6 separate regions of the Homo sapiens genome follow, and all the other regions are linked to region 1. Evidence: promoter capture Hi-C in 16 types of primary human blood cells and fetal thymus (Javierre and others, 2016). All regions are on one chromosome and are shown on one strand. Each heading gives the region's core, a stretch centred on a gene start or on the middle of the fragment in contact. The rest is flanking DNA. Distances are from core to core; before and after follow the strand shown. Region 1 holds the start of ANKRD31 (ankyrin repeat domain 31). Region 2 has its middle 70 kb from the start of GCNT4. Region 3 overlaps GCNT4 (glucosaminyl (N-acetyl) transferase 4). Region 4 has its middle 13 kb from the start of GCNT4. Region 5 overlaps ANKRD31 (ankyrin repeat domain 31). Region 6 has its middle 32 kb from the start of HMGCR.

Region 1 (2,871 bases), core at 161-2,660:
ATTTAAGTAAGTTACTTATTCAAGTAAGTTTATTTTTTTATTTTTTGAGACATGGTATGACTCTGTTGCTCAGGCTGGAGTGCGTTTGCTCAATCATAGCTCATTATAACCTCAAACTCCTGGGCTCAAGCGATCCTCCCGCCTCAACCTGAGTAGCTGGGACTACAGGCCCATGCTACCATGCCCTGCTAATTAAAAACAAATTTTTTGCAGAGATAGGGGTCTCACCATGTTGCCCAGGCTGGTCTTGAACTTCTGGTCTCAAGCAATCCTCCTGCCTCGGCCTCCAATGCATTGAGGTTACAGGTAGAGCCACCACCCCCAGCCTCAAGTTAAGTTTAGAAGATAATCACCAATCAAGCATTTTAAATAGCAGTGGCTTGAATATACATAGTAAAAACACAAAATAATAATAATGATAATAATGGCAAAGCTACTCCATATAGTGAAAAGGGCAATGAATTGGGAAGTCAGAAATCTCTAGCTCCATCCATTTATGACAAAACTTAGACTTTATATGTGCTAGATGCTGGAGACTCCAAGGTGAATACTAAACACTTGCTATGGGAAAACAACTTGGTCTTTTCTTGAATCTTCTTCTCACTTGGCAAGTGGAAGCTCACTTGGCTTTGTTTTGAATTAGTTTGAATTAAAAATGTTCAACTAGACTGAAACACATCAAATATATAAAATTCTAGTACTTCATTAAAACGCAATTGACTACTTTTGGAGGTTGCTAGGCATTACTATTATTATAAAAATTGATAAAAGAGGAAAAAATAAAGCATTTATCCTGCCTTTCCTGCATAATCTGTATTTCAGGTAACCAAAGCGTTGTTGAGAGAAAAAAAAAATGCAAAATACATCACTGAGATTAGTTGATGAGCTAAAACTTCTGATAAACGTATCTGTTTTGTCTACCTCAGAGGACACTTGAGGAGAGGCTGTCAAGGGATTAAAGGGAAAGGAAGCACTTGGTGGGCTGCAAAAACTCTCTTTAGGTCTAAGGTCGCATTCTGGCTCCAGAATGCCAGGGCTGCTGGGGCGGGCAGGAGCTGACAGCTCTTCCCGTATCTGGGGCTCACAAGCATCAGGTGCATGGCAGGTCACCCTCCCGGCCAAGGGTGTTAAGCAGGCTCGGTCTGAGTTCTGGGTGCGCCACGCCTGCCTTTCTGGTCTCTGCAGCAGCAACCCCAGCACCCTCAAAGCCTAGCGACCGAGAATGAGAAACCGTGAAAAAAACACGCAGCGGCAGGCCACGCCCAGAGTAGGCCTGCGCGCGCGCGCGCGGCCTCCCACTTCCGGCCACGGGAGCTGGGGGCGGGGCCGAGCGCTGCGCAGGGCTCCGTCGTGTGGCGAGCGGCTGCCCCCTGTCTGCGACGAGCGGCGGGACCCGCGGGCCGCCTCGCAGACTGCTACCCCGCCGCGCTCGCGGCCGCCTGCGTCCTCCTCAGCAGCCCTGCGACAAGTCCCGGCTCCTGCTGCGATTATATTATTTTTATTTTTAATTCACAATTTCCCCTGGCCCTCAAAGCGTTTTTTTGTTTGCGGGCAAGAGGGAGTTAGAGGAGGGTAAAAAAGACTTTGAATGTGAGGCAAAGATGGAGGAAGGCGTCCAGGCCCCAGACTGGGACAGTGATGAAACTGTGATAGAGGGTTCAGTGACGGAGAGCGACCTGGAAGAAAAGGAGCTGCCCTGGAGAAGGTGACCATCATTAGGGCCACAGTGCCTGAACCCTCGCGCCAGGGCGGCCCAGGTGCCCTCTGAGGGGGTCAGAGTTTTGAGTGGAGATCGTGACCAGAACATGTGCTTGTGGGCAGGATCAGAGCCTTGTGGGGCAGCCGTGCCTGAGCTGAGAGCTTGTAAATAAGCAAACACAGTCTGTTCCCACCTACCCCCAACCAGCTAGGGATAAAATGAGGTTTGTACTAGGTGGCTTTATAGCATTTTTCAAAAGGCTTTCCTTTTGGGGGCTTTAAGTCTTTTTGCACAAGCAAAAAAGATCTTGGGTCTGAACTTAACTGCATTTTGTTTCAGGAGACTTCATTTTGCTTCAAGAGACTCGTAGCTCAGTTCTAGGAAAATGGGTAACAGTTTCTCTCAAGAAAAGAATGTGTGATGGGGAAACTGGTCCCTGCCAAACTGGAAACGAATAGTTTTATACGAATCCAAAAAAGTCGGTATTTCAGGTTATCGAAACCTTTCTCTAACATATTCTCTGTGCTAGACACAGGGAAAAGAGGGCAGGGATGAGGCCACTAGGTCTGCTTCATATGTGCTCAGGGCTGTGTCTGGGACTTAAGTTGGATCGTACACAGAATTAGGTCATTCTCCTTTCCCTCTCTCTCTTCTCCAGGATTCTCCTGCCCCCTTTCCTCATCATACCCACTTGCCAGTTCATATGATCAGAAAGACAGGTTTCTTTGAGTGTTAGCCTTTTCACTATACAGCAGTTCCTTACAAGGGGGACAGCCTTTAGCACAGAGTTAAGAAAAGAGAGAAAAAAGGGGGATTCTGTCCACACTTTTCAGGCAATACCGATCCCTTTTCCCAGTTCCTCTGGTAGACACTTTCTCTTGAGTTTTATGTTCCCCAGTTGCCATGGTTGGTGTCTGCTCTGAGGCTAGGGCCAGCCTTGGGGCAGGGCTGGGAGGTGAGAGAGAAAGCAACATAAAGCCCTGGGCTTTGTCCTATACCTTCTGGCATGCAGGGGTCATTTTCCTTGGTCTTCTGGATAAAAATAGGTTTACTGTCTGTGCCCACTGGATGGTTCAAAGCTGAAAGACAAAAAAGAACCAAAAAACCGAAAACAAACTGAAACTCGTCAATAAATGGGTTGTTATTAAGATTTCAACTTCAGTCCCCAATCT
Region 2 (2,871 bases), core at 260-2,759, 250 kb after region 1:
ATAAGAAGGATTGAATAATCTTTTCTTTAGCAGTTCCTAACTTTTGTTTGACACGTAGGATATTAATAGCATGTGGAACCAGGAAAATTTCAGTTACCCATGACTTGGTGATAATAACGTTCTTATTCTATCCCAGCTAGAATTTTCATTGTTTGGCCTCTGCTCAAAGATGGGAACATTTAAGGAATAAAACAACCTTTCAGCTCTTCATGTGTAAGCCTAACCTAAACCAAATTTAGTTTTCAGTTATAAAAAAAGACATGCCATTTAAAAAATGTCAACCAACACAAAATGACTGAATTTTTACACTTCACTTTTAAAATGTGAATACCCTTAGAAACATCAGGATTGCTATTCCAGGCACACACACATAGAGGAGTGTTTATTTCACGAAGGCAGGTGTTGACTACTAGAAATAAGTCATATATTTGAGAATCATTAGGGCAAGTAGTGTCTCAAGAGGCCTGTGTTTAATGTTGGCTTTGTGACTAAGAGAAAATATCCCTTTCTCATCTGCACCCCAAAGCTCTGTTGCCTCATTTATAAAACATACAATGATTCCTCTAGGTAATTCTACTTGTGAGCATTAAATTCCACCCTGTATTTTTTTCTCTTTGCTGTTTTAAGGAAATAAAATTTAGAAATTAAAAATTGAAAAGGCAGACTGCGATATGGTGCACTGGAAAGAGCCCAGCTTTTGGAGTCAGGACACCGGGACACTGCGGCTCTCATCCTGCAGCTCCTAATAGATCTGCTGTGTCAGTCTGGGCAAGTCCCTCCAAGCTTCTGAATTTCTGTTTCCTTATCTGTAAAGAAAAGTTGGGGGGGATGGCAGTGGAGTGGGGCAGGCAGGATAGGCTTTGAATGGCTGATCCCCAAGATCTCTTCAAGCTTGAATATTCTGTGACTTTTATTATATAAGCCAAGGTGTTGTGTAGTTGCAGTGGTAAGTTATGCTTCCAGCTGCAAGTAACAGGAAAACTGACTTACTATGGCTTCATTTTTTTTTTTTTTTTTCATAATCAAAAGATTTAGAGATAGGCAGTCCATTGGTTAAGTGGCTCAACAATGTCAGGGATAGCAATCTTTTTTTTTTTCCTTCTTTTAAAAATAGCTTTAAAGAGGTATACTTGATATGGAATAAATGCCACATAAAGGGTGCAATTTGATAATTTGACATTTGTATATGCCCATGAAACCAACCCAACCATCAAGATAGTGAACATGTCTATCACCCCCAAAAGTTTCTTGGTTCCCCTTTATAATCTCTCCCTCCTGTCTCTTCCTGTACTCCTCAGGTGACCATGGACCTGCTTTCTGTCACTGTAGCCTGATTCGAATTTTCTAGAATTTTCTATAGAGTAGTATGTACTCTTTTCTGTCTGGCTTCTTTCACTCAGCATAATTATTTTTAGATTGATCCATGTTGTAGTGTGTATCTATAGTTTCTTTCTTTTTATTACTAAAGAGTATTTCATTTATGGATATATTATGTTTTGTTTATCCATAAATGTTGCCCACTTATTGAAGGGCATTTAGGTTGTTTCCAGTTTTTGATTATTACAAATAAAGCTACTAAGAACATTTGTGTAAAAGTCTATGTATGGCCGTGCACAGTGGTTCATGCCTATAATCTCAGCTCTTTGGGAGGCCAAGCTGGGTGGATCACTTGAGATCAGGAGTTTGAGACCAACCTGGCCAACATGACGAAACCCCATCTCTGCTAAAAAATACAATTATTAGCTGGGCATGGTTGCAGGCAACTGTAGTCCTAGCTACTCAGGAGGCTGAGGCAGGAGAACAGCTTGAACCTGGGAGGTGGAGGTTGCAGTGAGCCGAGATCCTGCCAGTCATTCCAGCCTGGGTGACAAAGCGAGACTCTGTCTCCAAATAAACAACGACAAAAAAATGGTATGTATGAACTACATTTTCTTTCCTCTTGGGTAAATATCTAGGAGTAGGATGGCTGGGTCGTATGGTAAATAAATATTGAATTTGTTTTAATAAAACCCCAAATGTTTTCAGTGTGGTTCTACCACGTTACTTCCCTACCAGCAGTGTATGAGAGTTCCAGTTCTTGTACCTCCTTGCCAGCACTTGGTATGGTGGTTAAAAAAGAAAGCTTTTAGCCATTCTAAAAGTTGTATAGTGTATCTCATCATGGATTTTTGTTTTTGTTTTTGTTGTTGTTGTTGTTTTGGTTTTGGTTTTGGGTTGTTTTGAGACAGAGTCTTGCTCTGTCGCCCATGCTGGAGTGCAGTGGTGTGATCTCTGCTCACTGCAACCTCCGACTGCTGGGTTCAAGAGATTCTCCTGCCTCAGCCTCCCAAGTAGCTGGGACTACAGGCATACACCATCATTCCTGGCTACGTTTTGTATTTTTAGTAGAGACGGGGTTTCACCATGTTGACCAGGCTGGCCTTGAACTGCCAACCTCATGTGATCCGCCCACCTCTGCCTCCCAAAGTGCTGGGATTACAAGGCATAAGCCACTGTGCCCAGCGCATTGTGCTTTTAATTTGCATTTCCTTAATGCTGTTGAGATTCTCTTTATGTGCTTATTTTCAATACATTTTCTTGGTAAGATGACTGTCCAAAATTTTCCCCACTTCTTTATTGAGTTGTTTGTTTTCCTGTTATCAGGTTTTCAGAGTTATATATTATTTTTACCAGATGTATGACTTGCAAATATTATCTCCCAGTATGAGGCTTATCTATTCATTCTCTTGACTGTGTCTTTCAAAAACACAGTTTTTAATTTCGATAAAATTCAGTGTATCAATTATTTCTTTTATGCATCATGCTTTTAGAGATATATCTAAGAAATCTTTGTGACCCAGAGTTACAAATGTTTTCTATATGTTCTAGAAT
Region 3 (2,871 bases), core at 136-2,635, 200 kb after region 1:
TTTGAAATTCCTATTGTGGCGGAATTTTCCCAAGCACTGCAGATTTTTATTTCTTCCATCCTTTTAACTTAATTTTTGAATTCCTGAGTCTTAATTTTATTGTGTCTAATATGCACACAAGATCTGAGAGCAATATGTACATTTTAAGCCAAGAAACACACAGATCTTAGCTAAATGGTGAAGTCATGCCAAGAGCTGCCAATCCTGTTTTTCAGTGGAAGTGCAGAAGCATGTTGAAGTCTCCAGCTGAGCTCCCCACCACATTGGAAGAACCCAGAAAACAAACAAGCAAGCTCTTCTCATGACTTAAAACTCAGGGTTTTCAGGGTGATGATTTTAAACTCAGGGTGTCTAATCCATTCATGAAGAGTGTGGTCTGGCCTCAAGCCATTTCTGACATCAATACCCTTGATTCATGTCTGTTTATCCCTGTGCTGCCTCTGCGATGGACATGGAGATTCTACTTTAAATGCACATTTAGAAATCAGTTACCCATACCTCTTCAGCTAGCCATGGAATCTTTGAGGAATTAATTTTGGCCAGTTGAAAAATATGGAGTTAGCCATATAATACCAAAATAAATGCTTCCAAAAATTTCTGAGGGGGAAAAAAAAGCATACCATGTAGATATTAGGTGGAGAAAGTTATTTTCTTTCTAGTGCAATAGATACACATTTTCAAAAATAGACATGTTTTTCAATTCAGTTTTTCTACTTTATAGAAAAAGAAGCCAAAATATTCTCAACCCATATTTTTAACTTAGAACATGAAACATAAAATGTAGTTTGGCTTTATGTTGTGTCAAGCTAAGTGAGAAGGGCAGAGAAGACGGGGATCCCAAGAAGGAATGAAACCTCTTTGATAAAGCTTGAGAGGCAAAGATGTAATGCATTCATTCACCCCTTTTTCATAATCCTTTATATCTAAAAAGAAGCAAACGTTTCATGTGAGCTTTTTCATCAAACTGAAATTTGAAGGCATAAGTATTTTTGAAATTCACCATCTTCTGATATTTTTTAGAATTTTCTTTAGAGAAAAACTGTTAATGTTTTACTCCCTTTTGAGGGTCACAATCTATTACAAAACAAAAACTTTTCATTCAGTTTCATTGTATGTGGCCCTTTACACTTCCTGCTAAAGACTTTAGCCATGTATCTTTGCCCAGCTAGATACACACACAGTCAGCTTTTGATATTTGCCCTGTGGACCAGATGAAATAAAGCCCAGAATCAAGTCTACTGTTTCCCAATTGGTGTGACCATGGGCTGAATTCTGCGCTTCTTTTTGTTGTTGTTGTTGTTGTTACATTGCTACAGCCCAGATTTCCAATGACCTTGAGAGGTCTATGCGTGGGTATGTACATCCTGATGTGGGTTACTCATTTCCCATGTAATCTTACAGGTCCTTTATTTCTGCCCAAATGTGAGAGGCTCCAGTAAAGTTTCTAGCTAGAAGAATTATAATCTATAGAGGTGGTTGATAGAATTATTTTCATGCTCAGTGTTTTCCTTTAGGTCTCTATTCTCCAAATCTTGCAGGTAAAGTAGTCCTTTATTCAGGGAAGATGATGACGTTCATAATTGCAGGCCTAGAGAGAAAGCTGTCAATTGTCATACATTCCACAGGAACATCAAACAGAGCTCCTTTAGTTGAGGGCATCTCAATTCACTGAGCTGAGCCAGTCTCACTGATGTGTGATCTGAATGACAGAGGACTGGCAAAGGCCCTGGGTGAGGGTGTGTTTGTGTATTCACATTGCTGCAGAATCTTCAGTACTGCTTTGTGGGTTCCGTGGTCCTTAGGGATGGCTTCACCAAACAGGGATGCAAGAACAAGTCATTGCATTTTTGCAATACCTGGAGAATTGCCCATAAAAGATAATGAACTTACAGGAAAAGCTTATAGCTTTTGCAACACATACTTACAGACCGCGTTTAGCCAATCATAACTGCATGAAACTGATTGCACGTGCTCTTGGCTGTCTTTTAAATAACTTTTTTGGTTATTAATCTTTTGAAAAATATCGAGCATACTGGGGAAAAAACTCTAAAGATTAACTACATTTCTTCCTGTCTCTCAAAATCCAAGACAGGTGTTTGTCTACATAATTCTGAAACTTTAGGGACAATTTATACTCCAGATATTAACAAAAAAGAATGCTGTCAAGTAGTGAAAAACCAATAATGATTAGAATGTCAGAATGAAGGGAATAATGAATGTACTGTTTTAGAAAAATAAAACCAACTTATAACACATTGACTCTTTCTCAGTTTTCCCAAGAAACCATTCCTCTTGTGGAGGTCCTCATACCTGACATTTGCATACCAAAGTTGTCTTTTTCCCCATGACTTTCACATACATTACATCATAAGACTTTCACAGTTGCACTGTGGGATAGAAAAAACATTATCCCATTTAACACATGGGAAAGAAAGATTTGCCAAGATTAAGTGATATGCTAGAGTCACTTGAAGAATTTTTTGTGGCAGAGCCCAGACTAGAACTTAGGTCTTCTGACTCTGTCCCATTGAGCAACTACCCCGTACCAGGTATGGATGTCTTTAATACTGGGGGTAAAGTAGTGAGTGAGGCCTTCAAAGACCTTATGTTTCTGTCTCAGGACAGGTACTAAACAAGTAAAGTAACTACTCCTTGTAGCAAGTGCTCAGAAGAAAACAAGGAGTGTGATAGGAGAGAGATTTAAGAAGGGTTAATCTGGGAGGCGGAGGTTGCAGTGAGCTGAGTTGGCGCCACTGCACTCCAGCCTAAGCGACAGTGCGAGACTCTCAAAAAAAAAAAAAAAAAGTTATCAGAGAGGACCTGAGGAAAAGCTATTTCTTTTCCTGGAGCAGCTGGTCATGCTAGGATCCA
Region 4 (2,871 bases), core at 229-2,728, 170 kb after region 1:
CTTTATTGTTCCAATTCTAGGGTACAGGCAGAGTAGATTTTGCACAGGGCTCTAGATTTTCAGAATGGTACATGAGAATTGGTTTCAACATAAAGTCACCAGTTGCATTAGTCCCTAACAAGAGTCAACCTGTCTTTTGAAGCTTTGAAACCAGGCATTGACTTCTTCTCTTTAGCTCTAACAGTCCTACATGGCATCTTCTTCCAACAGAAGGCTGATTAATCTATAATGAAAATCTGTTTAGTACAGCCACCTTCATCAATAATCTAGCCAGGTCTTCTCGATGATTTACTGCAACATCTACATCAGCACGTGCTGCTTCACCTTGCATTTGTATTGTAGAGACAGCTTCTTTCTTTAAATTTCATGAACCAGCCTCTGCCAGCTTCAAACTTTTCTTCTGCAGCTTCCTCACCTCTCTCAGCCTTCATGAATTGGAGTTAGGGCCTTGCTCTGGATTAGGTTTTGGCTTAAAGGAATGTTGTGGCCAGTTTGATCTTCTATCCAGACAACTCAAACTTTATCTCAGCAATAAGGCTGCTTTGCTTTCTTATCATTTGTGTGTTCACTGAAGTAACACTTTTAATTTCCTTCAAGAACTCTTCCTTTGCATTCACAACTTACCTAACAGTTTGATGCAAGAGACCTAGCTTTAGGCATATCCCAGCTTTCAATATGCCTTCTTCACTAAGCTTAATCATTTCTAGCTTTTGATTTAAAGTGAGAGGTGTGCAACTCTTTCTTTCACTTGAATACTTAGGCCATTATAGGGTTACTAACTGGCCTAACTTCAATATTGTCGGAACAAAACAACTATAATAATAACATCGAAGATCATTGCTCACAGATTATCATATCAGATATAATAATAACAAAAAAGTTAGAAATATTTTGAGAATTACCCACATGTGACACAGACACGAAGTGAGCACGTGCTGTTGGAAAAACTGGTGCTGATAGACTTGCTCAATGCAGGGTTGCCACAAACCTTCAATTTGTAAAAAAAAAAAAAAAAAAAAAGATAATATCTGCAAAGTGCAATAAAATGAGGTGTGCCTGCTCTCATGCAAGTCCAGTGATTTTGGTGGGTGGTGATATGGTGTTGCTTTTTGAATATTTTCTTATTTTAAACGTATAGAACATTAAGATACATCTTTAGAATATATAAGAAACTGCTTAACAGTGGCCTCTGGAGAAATAAATTACGGGGCTGGAGAACCAAGGAAAAAGACCTACTTTTGACTACATGTACCTGGAAATATTTGTCTATTAATAAAAGTGTAAGGACATATTAAATCATTTTATTTTTCTTCCTTCAAGAGTCCAATGCAAATGTTCAGGATAGAATAACCCTACATATTGTTATATTTGAGAACCAACAGAAAATTATATTGTTTCACTATAATTTCCTTGGAGTGCCTGTTTTTCTAATTCTTAAATAATCTGTATGAGACTTTATTCTGTATTTTGCTTTATTATTTAAGATAATTAAAATATGAGCCATTTGAGAATATATGTACTAATTAAATTATATATATAAATAAAATGTAAATTTTTGGACAATGTTTAATGCAAGTACTGGCTTATTAAAGAAAAATTATATACCTTTGCATGCATAATATATACACATATACTGGTATATATGTAGATAAGGTATATTATATATGCATACTATATATAAATATATAATATATACTTTTTAATAAATAGCTCCAAAAATGTGTGTTTCTATGCGTGTGGGGTGGAGGTGGGGGTATGTTCAGTAAAAGTTCTAGAATGCTACAGATACAAATGTTTATAGTGCCTATCCCTAAGGAAGCTAGACTGAGGAGGATGAAAGGGTACTTTTATAGTTTACTTTCGACTTTAAGAAGAAATTAGGCACACATGTCTTTTGTAATTAAAAAAAATTTAAGATAATAATTTTTAAAACAGGCATTTTGTCTAGTGATTACAATCTATGAAAGTCATATATGCTAAGTTTTTAATACAAAAGATCTTGCAATTCTAAGTTTTCATTTTGGTGATTAAATTCTTAATTTCCCAAGCCCTTTTACTCTATTTTATATACCAACTGGTGACTGAAATAACATCCATTGCCCTTCAGGCATGCTGAGCATTGCCCAAACTAAACAACAAAAGGGTCTACTCCAACCAGAGTTGGAGAGAACTACCTTACCCTAGATTATCTCTGTGAGAAGACTGGGCAATTTAGGATGTTAGCTACATGTTTTACCTACTCTGGATTCTAAATGAAAGCTTAGGCTTCTGACCCTAAACCATAGATGAAAAATATCTAATCAATCTCATACGTGGTATTTTTATCCTTTTTATAAAACTGATTTTTTGAACATCTCTGGAATACTCCATACCCAAAAAGGAAGCCTATTCCTTTTCAAACAGGTAGTCCTCAGTGTTAGAAAGCCGGAACCCCTATGTTCCAGGCCTCACAACTCTAAATGATAATACTTCTTTTTTTTACAAGCTGAATTATTATGGCACAGCTTCCACTGGCTTGGCTGTTGGAAGATTCTAAACATACATTGCTATGGCTTCGTGGTTCCCTCTGAAACTCATGCTGAAACTTAATCCCCAATGTAGCAGTGGTGGGAGATGGAGCCTTTAAGAAATGACTGGGTCGCTGAGGCGGGCCGATCACGAGGTCAGGAGATTGAGACCATCCTAGCTAACAAAGTGAAACCTCGTCTCTACTAAAAATGCAAAAAATTAGCCAGGCGTGGTGGTGGGTGCCTGTAGTCCCAGCTACTAAGGAGGCTGAAGCAAGAGAATGGTGTGAACCTGGGAGGCGGGGCTTACAGTGAGCCGAGATCGTGCCACTGCACTCCAGCCTGGACGACAGAGCGAAGCTCC
Region 5 (2,871 bases), core at 137-2,636, 160 kb after region 1:
AAGTCACAGTCAAAACTTTGTTTCATGTACAAAATTATTAAAAAGATTGGATCAAATTACCTTCAGGATTTGTGTTTAGGTGTATATGAAACATAAATGAATTTCATGTTTAGACTTGGGCCAATCCCCAAGATATCTCATGTATATGCAAATATTCCAAAATTTGAAAAAATCTAAAATCCAAAATACTTCTGGTCCCAAGCATTTTGGACTAAGGATACTCAATATTTATTACATAGTAATTCTATGTAGGAAGCACAGCGAATCTGTTTTCCATAGCAACTGAATCATTTTGCATTCCCAGCAGGAATGTACAAGGGTTCCAGTTTTTCTGCATCTCTGCAATACTTGTTATTTTCTGTTTGTTTTATAGCACTCAATTTTTAACCTTAGTTAATTCTAGCAGAATTTAAGAAATTACCCCATCCCTCACAATTCCTTTCTCTGAATCTATGCTGTACTTACTTTGGATAGATTTTTAAGTATCATATAAAAGGAAAAAATGAGTGTTGTTTTTCTTTCTGAAGACATGATTTGGTTTTGTTTATTTTCTAAAAATAAGCATTAAAATAAATCTTTGCTTATTAGAGTAAACTAATACCCTTTATCAGATGGAATAGCCTTTAGCCTGAGTAAACTAAAGAGAATGTAGTCTTCACCAGTGAGCAGCAGATTTTGAAATGATCTGGAAAAAGGCAGCACACATTTCTGAATAACAGCCATAACTACAGTTATATTACCCTCCTATGCTACAGCATCCCCTCTTTTTTTTCCTAGTGTCCCTGTCTTTGACCATTTGGGGACAATACAGAAGAGAGGAGGTACAAAACAAAAAATGATGATACTGTGATAACCAGGGCCAAGAATTAAACAGGGTTTCTATCACCAAGTCCCTACCCAGGGCCTCCCTGGGACTGTTCCTTTCCTATAACAAGCCCCAATAATTCAAACTACATTCCTTTCCTAACTTTTGCACCCTAATTTCTCAGGATCCTCCTCTGTCATAAAAACTGGCTCCATTAATAGGGTGCATTCTCCACAGTTTTCTGAAGATAGCCTCAAAAGTGTTTTTCATCATTTTTGGGAAACAGATAACATTAATAACTGGTAATATTAATAACTGGTAACATTAAAACAGGTAACATTAATAACTGTGGGGAAGTTAAAGGGCTTAAGAAATTGAAAAGAGTTCTTGTAGTAGTTCATGGCCTTTGGTTCCTAAGCTGACTACCTATCTAATCTACCTAATCAAATCATGGGGTAAGGCCCAGTAACCTGAATTTTTTAAAGTGACTCTTACACAGCCAGCCTGACTATAGACTTTGGATGACTAATAGTATTTGATTTCTTGTGCAAATAATAATTTGACAGTCCTTGATATTCACCCCTTTACTTTGATTCCTGAGGGTGGAATTGGAATTGCTAAAGTACTCTATCCTCTCTCTCTCTCTCCGCCCCCGTTGCTCCATCCCTTTCTCTCTCTCTCTCTCTCTGTCTCTCTCTCTCTCTCTGTCTCTCTCTCTCTCTGCCTCCTCCCCACCACCCACCCCAAACACACACTTGAAGGAAAACCAAACAAATGCTTTCTTCTTCTGGTTTCTAACCTAAGAGTTGAAGCAGAGCAGTAAGTATTTCCTTCTATCATGAAGGTCATCTGTTCCTCAGATTTTCTAGTTCTAGGCAGGCATTTCCAACCCTAGATAGGTATCTCCTTCCTCAGAGGGCACACAATCTCCCTTTTAAGTGAGCATGAAGTCAGAAATGGGTTCTGAACTGCTATTTCTGTTGCCTGTAATATAAACAGTTTCCTGTTATTTATTTATTTTCACAAATCCTGATTTTTCTTTCCATTAGATATTTCAGAAAATTTTTATGTTACTGCGCCATTGGACTCCAGCCTGGGTGACAAGAGCGAAGCTCTGTCTTAAAAAAAAAAAGAAAAGGAAATTTTAATGTTAATTTAAGAACCATGGAGGTAGCAGTGTGCCAACCAGCTTCTTGCTACCTTGGTCTGGACCTAAGAATCTATAGGCAGAGCCCTGCTGGCATTCTGTAGGCTGCTGTTGGAATTTTGTCTGAATCTCCTTAATTAGAATTCTTCTGTAGCTGGTTTTGTGGTACCTGACAGAAACCCAGAGACCTGGCAAGTTAGGACAATGCAAAACTCTCTAACCCTATTACAAGAAAAACTCTCAGGAGAGAATCTTTCTCCCTCTTCTGCATATCGAAATATCATCATGGAAATCATGGCTCTGACACTGTAGAGACCAGAAAGTCTAAAAAAAAAAAATAATTTTGTGTGGCTTTCATCAGCCTACCTCAGGTCACAAACATAATCTGTTCTCTTATGCTTTTTGATGACCATACTTTTTAGAATACTGTTTTTGGGGAAATAAGGGGAAGTAGGAAGAGCCATTTTTAGTTTATTATTTTATTTTTTAAATCATCTCTCCTAAAATGTCAAGGAAGAGCTATTTGTATTTCCCATCGGTAGGGTGACCATCATCCTGATTTGACCAGAGCAGTCCCCTAATTCAGCAAAATTATTACTAACGTTTTGTTTCACTTTCAGAAGTTGCTTGTTTAGATGACCCAGTACAGGAACCAAACAAATCAATGTTTGAGAAAACAAAATTTGGACAAGGTAAAAAAAAAAGAAAATATTCAATTCCATTTACTTTTATAAGTGTTTAGATTCTACATATTGTGCAAATAGATCAAATAGATTGTCAAATATTATGCATATCACTCCATATTATAAATAATTGCTGGTTACATCATCTTTATTTCCTGATAGACTAAGAAGATCTTTGATTTCAGAGAACTTTTATGAACTCTTACTTCTTATATTCTTCAATGCCTGGCACACCA
Region 6 (2,871 bases), core at 247-2,746, 130 kb before region 1:
CCAACTACTTAATCTGGTGGGATGCTGGAGGGAAAATCTGACTTGTGTTGAATTTGATGACAGAGAAATATTATGTGGTCCTCATTCCTAGAGGGATTTTCTAGGGCACTTTTAACTGTGCAGTTTTTCTTTAGACTTGACTTTGGCATATAACCTGCAAATAAGGTGTAGTTCTAACTAGCAGTTTCAAATGAGGTTGCTTTTATAGGATCTTCCAGATTTTCTTGCCATTATTCGAACTTGGTTACAACAGAGTTCATACTATCATTTATATTGTCTACCTTTTAAGACACATTTTCTGTGAACGTTCCACATCTGTATACTTTGAATAGCCTTGCACAAATACCATAAGTGAAGCTACTTTATTTGGCCTCTTCATTCTCTCTTCCTATAGAATTCTGTGAGGTTAGTACTAGAACAAATCTTTAAGATCTCTGAAGTTATTAGAAGATGCCAAACCAGGATTTTCCTGTCACCCAGGCTCTGTGGTTGATGAGGTGGTGTGTGAGGGTATCTCCGCCGTGTCTGTACCGGCACTATGCCTTTTCTGACTCCTCCCCACTCAACAGTCCTGTGGAGGTGGTAGCGGTGATTGGTGGTACCACCCCTGTTTTACAGATGAGGGAACAGGTTGGGGTTACAAACCTACTGATTCCCTGACTCTTAAGTTTTTTTTTTTCCCATTAGACTCTACTTTTTAATGCCTATGTGTAATATCTAGAATATAGTGTTTGATGGACTAGAAAGAGCTAACATGCTTGAAGACTAGCAATTTTGGTGTATGGGTCTTAGTCCCACACTTCAATATTGGCTTCACAAAATTCCAAATACACATGGTTCCTTAACAATGGTTCGATTTATGATTGTTCGACTTTATGCAAAGCACTACAAATACAGTACACTCCAACTTACCATGGGGCTGCGTTCCGATAAACCAGTCATATATGGAAAATACCGTAAGTCAAAAGTACATTTTCAGCCGGGGGCAGCGGCTCACACCTGTAATCCCAGCACTTTGGAAGACTGAGGCGGGTGGATTGCCTGAGGTCAGGAGTTGAAGACCAGCCTGTCTAACATGGTGAAACCCCTTGTCTCTACTAAAAATAAAAAAGTTAGCTGGGTGTGGTGGCATGCACCTGTAATCCCCAGCTACTCAGGAGGCTGAGTCAGGAGAATTGCTTGATCCCGGGAGGTGGAAGTTGCAGTGAGCTGAGATTACACCACTGCACTCCAGCCTGGGTGATACAGCAAGACTCTGTCTCCAAAAAAAAAAAAGTTTTCAACTTACGTTATTTTCAACTTGCAGTGGGCTTATCAGCACATAGCCACATCATAAATGGAGGTGCTTCTGTCAAAAGTACATTATTGTTTTATTTTCAACTTACAGTGGGGCTTATCAGTATGTAGCCCCATCATAAGTCAAGGGGCTTTTATAACGATGTGTCTTACAAAATCCCACCAGATACAGAAAGGAGGGCAGTAAAGATGAAATTTGATCACAATTAGGTGCTTAAACTTTCTTCCTGTCCTCCAGCTCAGAGGATGAAACAGGAAACTGAGTCATAAAACACTACTACAAACAAGCCCAAGGATTTTATCCCAGATTTTCAACCCAAGGATGAGCTGCAATATAACTATCACTGTTTTGTTGGCTGCCTGCCACAGAATGACCACTGAGGAAATAAAGCGAGCTTTGGATTCACTGCAGCTTGGTTTACTGTGGTTCTTTTCTGTATTACCGTTGTTAGGATTGGGAGGTTTAAGTGGTAACTGGGTCCAGCAGCAGGGAATCTGCGTGCAGCAGCTAAATCAAGGTTTAGTCAATGTCCAAAACACTTTAGCAAATTGGATATCAGTAATTCCCCAGCACCCTAAAACAGTTCCCAGAGCAAGTATTTATTGAGCTCCTACTACATGCCATGAAGGATTGGAGATAAACGATAACCAGCATATAGCCTTCATTGTTGTCATAACCAGGCTTTTAAGAAATGTATCCAAAGTTAAAGGAAATAGGCTGGCCCGGGCGCGGTGGCTCACACCTGTAATCCCAGCACTTTGGTAGGCCGAGGCAGGTGGATCACGAGGTCAGGAGTTCGAGACCAGCCTGGCCAACATTGTGAAACCCCGTCTCTACTAAAAATACAAAAATTAGCTGGGTGTGGTGGCGGGCACCTGTAATCCCAGCTACTCGGGAGGCTGAGGCAGGAGAATCATTTGAACCCGGGAGGCAGAGGTTACAATGAGCCAAGATTGCACCATTGTACTCCAGCCTGGGCGACAGGGCAAGACTCCATCTTAAAAAAAAAAAAAAAAAAAAAAAGGATTTGAGATCAGAAGCATTTGAATAAGGTACATTGAACAATAGATTTAGCCACATTTGAGATGTACAAAAGTGTTTTTAATTCTTGGTTCTCAGTTCTCAAAAGATAGATAGGAAATAGGTTGTTGCTGTGTTTTAAGTTTACCAACCTCTGTACATTGATAGCACCACATTAATGGTATTCATTTTAATTTAAAACTACAATTTATAGTCTGTGACTCACTTTTCATTCCCAGCATCCAGTAGGTTTTTGTTGTTGTTATTTCTAAGTAAATTTCCAAGTTCCTGGTTACCATGTGTTAAACATACTGAGAAAGAATGAGACTTAGAAGTCAGAAGACCAGAGGTTCTCTTGCTCTCTCACTTGAACAGCTTTTATCTTGGGCAAATCATTTTAATGTGTCTAAGTCTATTTTAATCTATAAAATTATACAAAGCCACCTACTATGGCTACATCACAGGGTGGTTTGGGGAAGAGCAAGATAATGTATTTTAGTGCTTTAAAAACTTTAAAGTACTATGCAAATACTAAGGAATACTAAGGCAACTAC

What was found. The method cuts DNA at HindIII sites, captures the fragments that hold promoters and counts their contacts. A CHiCAGO score of 5 or more calls a contact.
Region 2: a contact is called between a fragment that was not itself captured here and the fragment with the promoter of ANKRD31 in region 1, in 1 of 17 cell types (non-activated CD4 T cells). The highest score is 5.8, in non-activated CD4 T cells.
Region 3: a contact is called between a fragment that was not itself captured here and the fragment with the promoter of ANKRD31 in region 1, in 8 of 17 cell types (naive CD4 T cells, non-activated CD4 T cells, activated CD4 T cells and 5 more). The highest score is 13.8, in naive CD4 T cells.
Region 4: a fragment that was not itself captured here is called in contact with the fragment with the promoter of ANKRD31 in region 1 in 8 of 17 cell types (naive CD4 T cells, activated CD4 T cells, fetal thymus and 5 more); the score reaches 11.2 in naive CD4 T cells.
Region 5: a fragment that was not itself captured here is called in contact with the fragment with the promoter of ANKRD31 in region 1 in 5 of 17 cell types (fetal thymus, naive CD4 T cells, non-activated CD4 T cells and 2 more); the score reaches 7.4 in fetal thymus.
Region 6: a fragment that was not itself captured here is called in contact with the fragment with the promoter of ANKRD31 in region 1 in 1 of 17 cell types (neutrophils); the score reaches 5.9 in neutrophils.

Annotation. Positions count from the first base shown.
Region 1 is chr5:75,235,417-75,238,287 of GRCh38, reverse strand. ANKRD31 (ankyrin repeat domain 31) reads left to right here and starts at 1,410. Exons shown (of 26, transcript NM_001372053.1): 1 at 1,410-1,705. The coding sequence starts at 1,602. It overlaps LOC124901006 (a long non-coding RNA gene), which reads right to left and starts at 1,250. Exons shown (of 2, transcript XR_007058823.1): 1 at 922-1,250. RefSeq lists a silencer at 1,170-1,469 and an enhancer at 1,520-1,689. The HindIII fragment of the contact is 5,895 bases long and covers 1-2,871 here.
Region 2 is chr5:74,981,489-74,984,359 of GRCh38, reverse strand. No RefSeq gene overlaps it. Among named protein-coding and RNA genes, the nearest start is that of GCNT4, 70 kb to the left of the region's middle. The HindIII fragment of the contact is 1,231 bases long and covers 894-2,124 here.
Region 3 is chr5:75,040,118-75,042,988 of GRCh38, reverse strand. The region is part of intron 3 of GCNT4 (glucosaminyl (N-acetyl) transferase 4); the gene reads left to right. Among named protein-coding and RNA genes, the nearest start is that of GCNT4, 11 kb to the left of the region's middle. The HindIII fragment of the contact is 1,031 bases long and covers 870-1,900 here.
Region 4 is chr5:75,063,771-75,066,641 of GRCh38, reverse strand. No RefSeq gene overlaps it. Among named protein-coding and RNA genes, the nearest start is that of GCNT4, 13 kb to the right of the region's middle. The HindIII fragment of the contact is 1,567 bases long and covers 695-2,261 here.
Region 5 is chr5:75,080,341-75,083,211 of GRCh38, reverse strand. It overlaps ANKRD31 (ankyrin repeat domain 31), which reads left to right. Exons shown (of 26, transcript NM_001372053.1): 25 at 2,573-2,644. Among named protein-coding and RNA genes, the nearest start is that of GCNT4, 29 kb to the right of the region's middle. The HindIII fragment of the contact is 5,333 bases long and covers 1-2,871 here.
Region 6 is chr5:75,367,322-75,370,192 of GRCh38, reverse strand. It overlaps a transcript of CERT1 not described here. Among named protein-coding and RNA genes, the nearest start is that of HMGCR, 32 kb to the right of the region's middle. The HindIII fragment of the contact is 5,347 bases long and covers 1-2,871 here.